Linked DNA regions of Homo sapiens: region 2 is linked to region 1. Evidence: promoter capture Hi-C in 16 types of primary human blood cells and fetal thymus (Javierre and others, 2016). All regions are on one chromosome and are shown on one strand. Each heading gives the region's core, a stretch centred on a gene start or on the middle of the fragment in contact. The rest is flanking DNA. Distances are from core to core; before and after follow the strand shown.

Region 1 (4,815 bases), core at 944-3,443:
AAAGGAAAAAGAGAGAGAGAGTGGTTCATTAATGATCCGAGGGAGGGGACAGGAAAGACAGGCCCTTCACAGGGGACCTCCCCAGAGAGCTGAGAGCGGGAGAAGCCCAGCAGTGGGGACACTACCCAGAGAAAGAAACAGAGCTGAGGCTCCACCCGTGCACCCGCCCCACCCAGCCACCCAGCACGTCCACGAGCCACGCGCCAAGGGCAGTTCTGGTTTCCACAGATAAGCATTTAAGGAAGAATGTTCAGGAGTCCTGCTGTATTCTTCACCAGACTTGTCTCAGAGCAGCTGCTCACCCAGGAGCTCCATGGCCACAGGGATGCCCAGGACAGGGACGACTGCTTGCCCACTGCCGTGCTCTGGGGCTCTGGGCAGTCCCTCGGCCTCACCCACTGCTCAGATTTTCTGCAGGAAAAATGGGAGAGCCACCCTTTCAAAGAGTGACCCGGGCCCGGTTCCTCCTCAAAGCCTTTCGGAATGAATCTCCCAGTTCCCCACTGACTGGACATAGAACCTCTGCTCTTTCCTTCTCTAAGGCTGTGCTAGTCCATTATTCATTAAAAGACAAAATGAGGCCGGGTGCAGTGGATCACGCCTGTAATCCCAGCACTTTGGGAGGCCAAGGCGGGCGGATCATGAGGTCAGGAGATCGAGAACATCCTGGCTAACACGGTGAAACCCCATCTCTACTAAAAATACAAAAACAAAATTAGCCGGCTGTGGTGGCGGGTGCCTGTAGTCCCAGCTACTCAGGAGGCTGAGGCAGGAGAATGGCGTGAACCCGGGAGGTGGAGCTTGCAGTGAGCCGAGATCGTGCCACTGCACTCCAGCCTGGGCGACAGAGAGAGACTCTGTCTCAAAAAAAAAAAGACAAAATAATTGTCTTTTAATGACTTTAAAAGACATTGAGGTGGGTGTGGGGCTCATGCCTGTAATCCCAGCAATTTGGGACGCCGAGGTGGGAGGATCACTTGAGCCCAGGAGTTTCAGACCAGCCCAGGCAACGTAGCAAGACCCCATCTCTACAAAAATGTTTAAAACCTAACCAGGAATGGCAGTGCATGCCTGTAGTCCCAGCTACTCAGGAGGCTGAGGTGGGAGGATTGCTTTAGCCCAGGAGGTTGAGGCTGCAGTGAGCTATGATAGCACCACTGCACTCCAATCGGAGTGGCAGAGTGAGACCCCAACTCAAAATAAAATTAAAAGACAAGAGGCCAGGCGCAGTGGCTCATGCCTGTAATCCCAGCACTTTAGGAGACTGAGGTGAGCAGATCGTGAGGTCAGTAGTTCAAGACCCGCCTGGCCAACATGGTGAAACCCCATCTCTACTAAAAATACAAAAATTAGCTGGGCATGGAGGCGCATACCTGTAATCCCAGCTACTCAGGAGGCTGAGGCAGGAGAATTGCTTGAACCGGGAGGCAGAGGTTTCAGTGAGCCAAGATCATGCCACTGCATTCCAGCCTGGGTGACAGAGCAAGACTCCATCTCAAAAAAAATTAAAAGACAAAATGTGGACACACACATGGCCCCAGCAAGCAAGATTGATTACTAACTTCGTGGTGGCGTGCACATGCACACGATGTTCCACAAGCTCATCATCTATTCGAGTCGAGAGTATTCAGTTATCAGCCTCAGAAATCCAGAAGGAACCTCACATCCCAGGAGCCTCTGGCATTTCAGGGCCTTTCACTCCAAGGAGCCGCCTCCACCGGGCCTTCCCCAGCAGGATGTATATGGCCCTGTCTGTGTGCTAGGAGGAGAAGGGCAGGCCCGTGTGCTGTCTGGTGCTAGGTGTGAGACCACAGCCTTTCTGGAAAGGCTTTGTACTGTGCTGCTGGTGTGCAGACCCCGTGCGTGGTAGGGGCTTCAAGAATACGCATCAAATGAACCCGAACCCAAGGACGCTTGCTCACCTGTGTCATCTGGGGGTCTCCTTCCACAGGAAGCACATCTGGGCAGAGTGAAGGCTCCCAGGGCTCAGGTCCAGAAAGAGCTGGAGGCTCCTGAGAGCAAGGGGCCCTACTCGGCCATGAGCCCAGAACAATGCGAGCTTCACACACCGCAGGTGTGTGCGTGTGGGAGCCTCTTCCTGAAGCCTTGGGGTCAGGGGCCGGGGCCCAGCAGGCTGGGTTTATTGTCCATTGTCTCAGGCCGGGACAGGAAGCACTTTCTGTTCCCAATTGCTCGGGTGGATTAATTTACAGTGGGGAGCTCAGAGTCGCCCACGGCACCTGTTTTCCCCTCTGAGGGGCCAGCTTCCAGCTTGGAGGGTGTTTCAGGAGGGGTCTCCTCTGCAGAGACGTGGCCTCCTCCAGAGACCCTTGGCCACAGCCCCTGCCCGCTCCGTGCTGGGCCGAGGCCAAGGCCCTGGCAGCCCTGCCTGCTTGCCCGGGTCACGCTGCCCACCCACGGGGAAAGCTGAGCCCTGTGGAGTGCACACCATGCTGTCAGCAGTGAGCCATGGTGAGGCAGCCTCAGCAATGTGTCTTCTCTTTGGTTGGGAATCCGCTCTCTCTTCCAGGTTCAGGGGCAGGTGATGTATGCTTGTTTTCATTTGGTGAAGATCGTGAGTCCCATTTTACAGATAAGGACGCTGAGGCTCAGCAAGGTTGACTACACAGGTCGCGAATGAAGTGGTGGGATGCAAACCCGAGTCTGCTCCAGGTCCCAGAGCTCTCAACCTCAAATGTCTCAGGAGCCAACGAAAGCTTGTGACTGAGTGTCACCAGCTGGTGTACAAAGGGGGAGTGGCAGGAGGTGGAGGAGAACCCAGGGGTGCAGGCAGGGGGGACCCTGTGCCATCTCCAAGGGCAGCACTGCTCTACCCAGCCTGCCATGCCTTGAAGTAAGGTGGACCTTGTGTGGCCACATTTTTCCTTGTTAGTAACTCAGAAGATACATTTCTAGACACGGGGTAGGTCACAAAAGCCTGTCTGCAGGCGGCACATTGCTTTCCACCTCTGCTCTGTGCCACCATGCCAACACCAACAGTGAGCACCTGCTATATGCAGGTGCTGCCCGGGCACCTCCACAACGGGGACCCATCCTGTGTCTTCAGGCCCCCCCAGGCAGCAGGCACTGTGCTTCCTGTGGACACACAGGGGACTGAGGCTCAAAAGAGCAGGCTCCTGACCCTGGGCACCAGGCTGGTCTCGGCTTGCTCACTCCACCCCTGCATCCCTGCATCGGTTTTTCATCACCACTAATGCAGGAGGCTGAGGAAGAATTCTGGAGTCTGGTGGAGGATGGGGAAGCTGACCCTATTTCTATAGGTACCTCCCTCATTTTTGTAGGATGGCTCCAAGTCAGCCACCGAGACTGCCCCCTCTGCACTAACCATTAGCCAGCACTACCAGGATTGGCCAGCTTGCTCTGTGCCACTTGTTTTATTTATTTGTTTGCTGGAGACAGGGTCTCGCTCTGTCACCCAGGCTGGAGTGCAGAGGTGCAATCATAGCTCACTGCAGCTTCCACCTCCTGGGCTCAAGTGACCCTCCCACCTCAGCCTCCTGAGTAGCTGGGACTATAGGTGGGCGCCACCACATCCAGCTTTTTTTTTTTATTTTTTGCAGAGACAGGGTCTCGCCATGTTGCCCAGGCTAGTCTTGAACTTCTGGCCTCAAGCCATCCTCCTGCCTCAGCCCCCCAAAGTGCTGGGATTACAGATGTGAGCCACTGCACCTGGCCTATGCCACTTGTGTACTCCACCAAAATAAGCTTGATTCCCTGACTTCGGTGGCTTAAGATGGCTGAGCTCTCACCCTCTCTGCCCAGGCCCCTGCCCACCTGCCCTCTGCCCCAACAGCCACCTCTGCTAGGCTGCTTCCTCCTACTCAGGCAGGGTGGATGGTTCATTGTGTGGCCCCGGATCCAGGTTCCCCCACTGCCTCCCTGAGTGACAGGGCTGCCCTTTGTGGAGGGGGAGATTAGAGGCGGGCTGGAGGCTGCGCAGCCCTCCCTGGATGACAGGAGACATCAGCCCCGCACACCGCAAGGGCCTGGAGCGAGGAAAGCCTTGACAGGCCTGGAGGGGATCCAAGAGGGGAGCCAAGGAGGGGGCAGGCTCCTCACACACAAAGGCCGGGCCTGTCTTCACACCTGCGGGGATGAACAGAGCCCAGGGCCGGGAGAGGTGGGGGCTGTGGGGGGATGAATAATTCGCTCTGAAAGAAGCATGTCACAGGGAGATAGCTCAGCCAGACACTTCAAATAAAGGCAAGCAGCCGTGGTGACAGGGGACATTCTTTGCCACCGATGCACCGCTGGGACCTAAGAGCTGAGATGTTGTGAAAGAAAGGCGCCTTGAACCCTTCATAGTTATTTTTATTTTAAAAAAAGAGAGAGAGAGAGGGAAAATAACACCACAGAAGCAAGGATGGGCCTCGCAACGCGGAGAAAGGCCAGATAATGAGTTCTGGCACCTTAATTTCACTTTTGTCAGAAAGAACGGTGCTTCCTGGGCACACCTGAAGAACCAGGTCTGCTCATTCTTCCTGTCTCGGCATCTCTGGCCACCCTGTTCCCTGACCCAGGGCACCTCCACCCCACCACCCCTCCCTCCACAGACTCCTCCCCAGGGTTCCAGAGCCAGCACCGAAGGCCTCTCCTGCCATGAGGCCCACCCCAGCAAACACCTGGGTTCATGCCCCTCCTCCCAGGCGACCTCACTCAGTCCTCAGGCGGTGACCTCACCTTTTGACATACTTCTCCCCACCACTCAGCCAAGCCCTCAGGAGCGGGCAATCCCATCCCGTTCTGTCCCACACCCCTCAGTAGAGCACACTGTCCTGTACACAGCGGCCACGC
Region 2 (4,295 bases), core at 953-3,452, 370 kb before region 1:
TCCCCAGCCATGCCTTGGGCAGGTAAGGAAAGAATGCTAGCTGAAACGATGGGGAGAATTATGTCTGGCAGTATGGAATTGGGCAAAAATGAATTGGATGCAGGTTTCCCGCAGAACAATCGTGAGACTGTTATGGAATAAGCCTTTGTTCTTTGCAATCAGAGTCCTGGTTTTACACCACCCAGATTGTCTCATTAGGATGTCTTTTTTTCAGGACATCTGTGGTCACTTGTGTGAATGTGACACTGTAGGGTCAAGTGGAGGGCTCAATGAAGAGAGAAGTTAAAGTTCCCCACAGCCCTAGAATGGGACAGTTTGCTGTTGATTATGTAGTTAACTGCTGGTGATCTGTGCTGCTGGTGATCCTGGACTTGAGTTGGTCACAGTCCCCACCTTTGCAATTTTCATCTTATCCATGCACCACCTTTATTAGTATTATTATTATGTTTACTTTAAACAGACTATTTATTTAACCTTCTCCTAAGTAATATTAGCCTTGAAATAATGAGTTTAAAATACTAATTCCATTTTCCTTCAGTGCATATTAAAATAAATACCTAACTACCATAATAAAAAAAGTGTGTGTCACCTAAAATCTGGCAGGGTATGTCCTATACTTTGGGCAACACCATGCTCTCTAATTGCTCTACACTCACTTTCCTGCCAGGGTACTAGGTAATGAGTACACATACAGGATGGGGCAGAGATAGGAGATGGGAAGTGAGGCATCTCTGACCCAGAGTTCTGGGTGTGCTTAAGAAAAAAAAAAAAGAATCTCATAGCAGAGATCCTGTGGTGGTATCTAATTGTGGTTTTATTTTGCATTTCTCTGATGACTAATAACATTGAATACTTTTTAATGTGTTTATTGGCTATCTGTAGATCTTCTTTTGTGAAGCAGCTTTCAAATCTTTTGCCTATTTTTTATTAGATTTTAAAAAATTATTTTGTTGTTGAGTTATAGGAGTTCTTTAACCTACTTATCAGTCCTTTGTCAGATATATGTGTCGTGAATACCTTCTGACAATTTATGGCTTACCTATTTGTTTTCTTAATGGTGTCTTTTGATAACCAAAAGTTTTGATGAAGTCTAATTTATCACTTTTTTCTGTTGTAGTTACTGCTTTCTATGTTCTAAGTAACTTTGCTTACCACCAAGTTATGAAGACATTCTACTCAGTTTCCTTCTAAAAAGCTTAATGACATTAGCGTTTGCATTTAGTCCTGTAATCTATCTTGAATTAGTTTTTGTATGTGGTGTGAGATGGGGGTCAAAGTAGATTTTTTTCCGTATGGCTATTCATTTATTCCAGTGCATCATTTCTTGAAAAGTTTTTTAGATTGTTTTGTTGCCTTTGTGAAAAATCACATAACCATTTAAGTGTAGGTCTATTTCTGGACTCTATTGTACTTTGATTTGTTTGTCTGTCTTCACACCAATATCGCACTGTCTTTATTAGTAGCTTTATAAAGTAAGTTTTGAAGTCAAGTAGTGTAAGTCCTCCAACTTTGTTCTTTTCCAGTATTGCTTTGAATATTCTTGATCCTTTGTAGTTCCATATAAATTTTAGAAGCAGCTTTTCAATTTCTACAAAAAAAATAAATCCTGGGATTATGATTGGGATTACATTGAATCTATACTATAGCTCAATCGAGGGAAAACTGACTCTTAACAATATTGAGTTTTCCAATCTATGAACTTAGCACATCTCTTCACTTATGTATTTTTAAGTTTTTAGTATAGAGGTCTTGTACATATGTTGTTAAATTTATTTCTAAGTATTTTATGTATTTTGATGCTATCATAAATGATATTTTTAATTTGTTGCTAATATATTAACATAATTAGTTTATGTATATTCATCTTGTATCTTGCAACCTTGCTAAACCTTCTTATTAGTCCTAGTGGTTGTTTTATAGACTCCTTAGGATTTCCTACATAAAAAATCATGTCAGCTAAGAATAAAGATAGTTTTACTTCTTTGTTTCTACTCTTTATACCTTTTTCTAACCTTTATGTTCTTTTTCTTAACTTATTACACTGGCTACAACTTCCAGTAAAATGTTGAGTAGAAGTGGTGAGAGTGGACATCCTTGCCTCGTTCTGATCATGGTGACAAATCATTTCATATTTCTCTAGTAAGTATGGTGTTAGCTGTGGGTTTTTCCATACACATCCTTTACTGTGTTGAGGAAATTCCTCCTGTTCCTAGTGTGGTGAATGGTTTTATCAGGAGTGGTTGTTAAATTTTGTCAAGTGCTTTTTCTGCATCCACTGAAATGATTTTATAGTTTTTCTTCTTCATTCCGTTAGTGTGGGGAATTATACTGATTGATTTTTTTGAATATTAAACATAAAAAGCTATAAATTTCCCTCTAAACATTACCTCAGCCTCACCCAATATATTTTTTAACATGGTTTTAACATGTTCATGTAGATTTTTATTTTCCAGGAATGGATTATTTGGCCCATGGATCAATCAGTTGGTAGAATACAGATTGTAGATAGTATAAATGAATGGTTACACCCAAATGTTGGCAATTTGAGACAATTTGTGAAACAGCAGGAATGGCAAAGTCTTTGTTTCATCAGCAACTTCCTAATGGAATTTGTTGACGGAAGTGATTTGATTTTTATCCATTTAGTGATGCTTATATCATGGCAAAGTCCAAGCCATTCACATTTCCCTTCAGGTGTGTTCTAATTCATGATCTTAAATCATGATAGGCTATTTCCTTAAAGTGATGTCATTGTTTCCACCTGGGCAGAGGAAGATGATGAGTGTTGGCGATGGCAGAGGAAGGGGATGGACACAAGTCCAGGAATAAGGAAGGCAAATGTCAGCCAGCACTGTCAGCCACCTCCCTTGTGTGCGGGCACTGGGCTAGATCACCTGCATGTGTTAGGTGTGAGTCCACAGCACTGAGGAGATGGAGGTCTGTAGGAAGTAAATCATCTGCTGCAGGTGACATGAGTAGGGGCAGAAACGAGGCTGGAGCCAGGTCTGCTAGCCCTCAAAGCTGGTGGACTTTTCCCAGGCAGTATCTACCTTTTTTTATCATGCAACATGAGGATATCTACATTTTGGAGTGAGTGTGAGCTTTGAGGATAAAGTTGTAACAGAAGTTTCCAGGATAATCCATTAATTGATACCACCTATCTTATTGATTTAATAATTGAGCCACTGTTATACTTGGCCAGTTGAATATCAAGCTTGGCATTCCATTAGATAGGAAACCTGGTTTTGGAATAAATCAATAATCCCAGGAATTCTTAACAGGAAACATGGTTACCAAATGTAAATGAAACACTAGAGTTATTTATAGGAGTATTGTATTAGATAGTTCTCTAAGTGGGCTGCAAAGCAGCTCTGTGAAGTGAGTCCTATTTTCTCAGTGACTTGCATATTCTAAGATTAAGTGATGTATTCCCAAGGAACAAGTCCTTTGTAAACAGTGGTTAACTTTTGTAAGGAAGGAATATAGAAGATTCTGGACAGTGTCACGGAATAAAACTATTAAGAGCACAGATTCTAGCACCATACTACTTGAATCCTGGCTCCATCACTTGCTTGTTTTGGGATCTTAAGCTGGTGACTTACCCACTTTTTACCTCAGCTTCTTATCTGTAAAATAAGGATAATAATATTGTATGTACTTATGACAGTCATTGTAAGGATTAATGAATTAGTATGTAAAGTACTTAACACAAAGCCTGTTGCATAGTCAACTCTCAATAAATATTAACTGTTATTATTGCTATGGTTACTGATATTTGTATTGCTTTAATTATGACATTTATTTCTTAATTTTTGGCAGAATTTCCTTGCTTGTTTTAGCTTGCCGTAAGATTAGGTATTTCCCTCTCTCTCCTTGTGTCTGAGGTAGGGTTCTTTCAGAGTTTTGCTGTTTGTCACAGTGTCTAACTACTCTGTGTTCAGCTGGCCTCCCTAGGGTTGCTCTTAAGAATCAATATCTCTTATTAACAAATACGATGCTCCCAGCCACTCCTTTCCTGGGAGCATCTCCACGTTCAAAGCCAGGTTGCACAGTGCCTGGACAGCAGCAGGATGTGTGTTGGTTCCCTCCTGGGATGCCGCCTTCCCCAGGGCATGGTAAGTGTGCTGAGCAGTCTGTGCGTCAGTGAGACCCTCCCGAGCTCAGTGAGACCCTCCCAAGTTGGTGCTTCACTGAGACCCACCCAGCCATTTTTGCCTGATCAAGTGACAGAATGGTTCAAAACTGAATTATAAAAGACTTATTTACCTGGATGATAATACAAAAGAAAGGAGCCC

What was found. Contacts are between HindIII fragments. The CHiCAGO score rates a contact against its expected background, and 5 or more counts as called.
Region 2: a fragment that was not itself captured here is called in contact with the fragment with the promoter of LINC01565 in region 1 in 2 of 17 cell types (erythroblasts and endothelial precursors); the score reaches 6.3 in erythroblasts.

Annotation. Positions count from the first base shown.
Region 1 is chr3:128,573,893-128,578,707 of GRCh38, forward strand. It overlaps LINC01565 (long intergenic non-protein coding RNA 1565), which reads right to left and starts at 2,194. Exons shown (of 3, transcript NR_125802.1): 1 at 1,923-2,194; 2 at 1,374-1,494; 3 at 1-411. The HindIII fragment of the contact is 3,021 bases long and covers 1-2,715 here.
Region 2 is chr3:128,200,626-128,204,920 of GRCh38, forward strand. All of the region lies in intron 1 of EEFSEC (eukaryotic elongation factor, selenocysteine-tRNA specific), which reads left to right. Among named protein-coding and RNA genes, the nearest start is that of EEFSEC, 49 kb to the left of the region's middle. The HindIII fragment of the contact is 2,019 bases long and covers 1,194-3,212 here.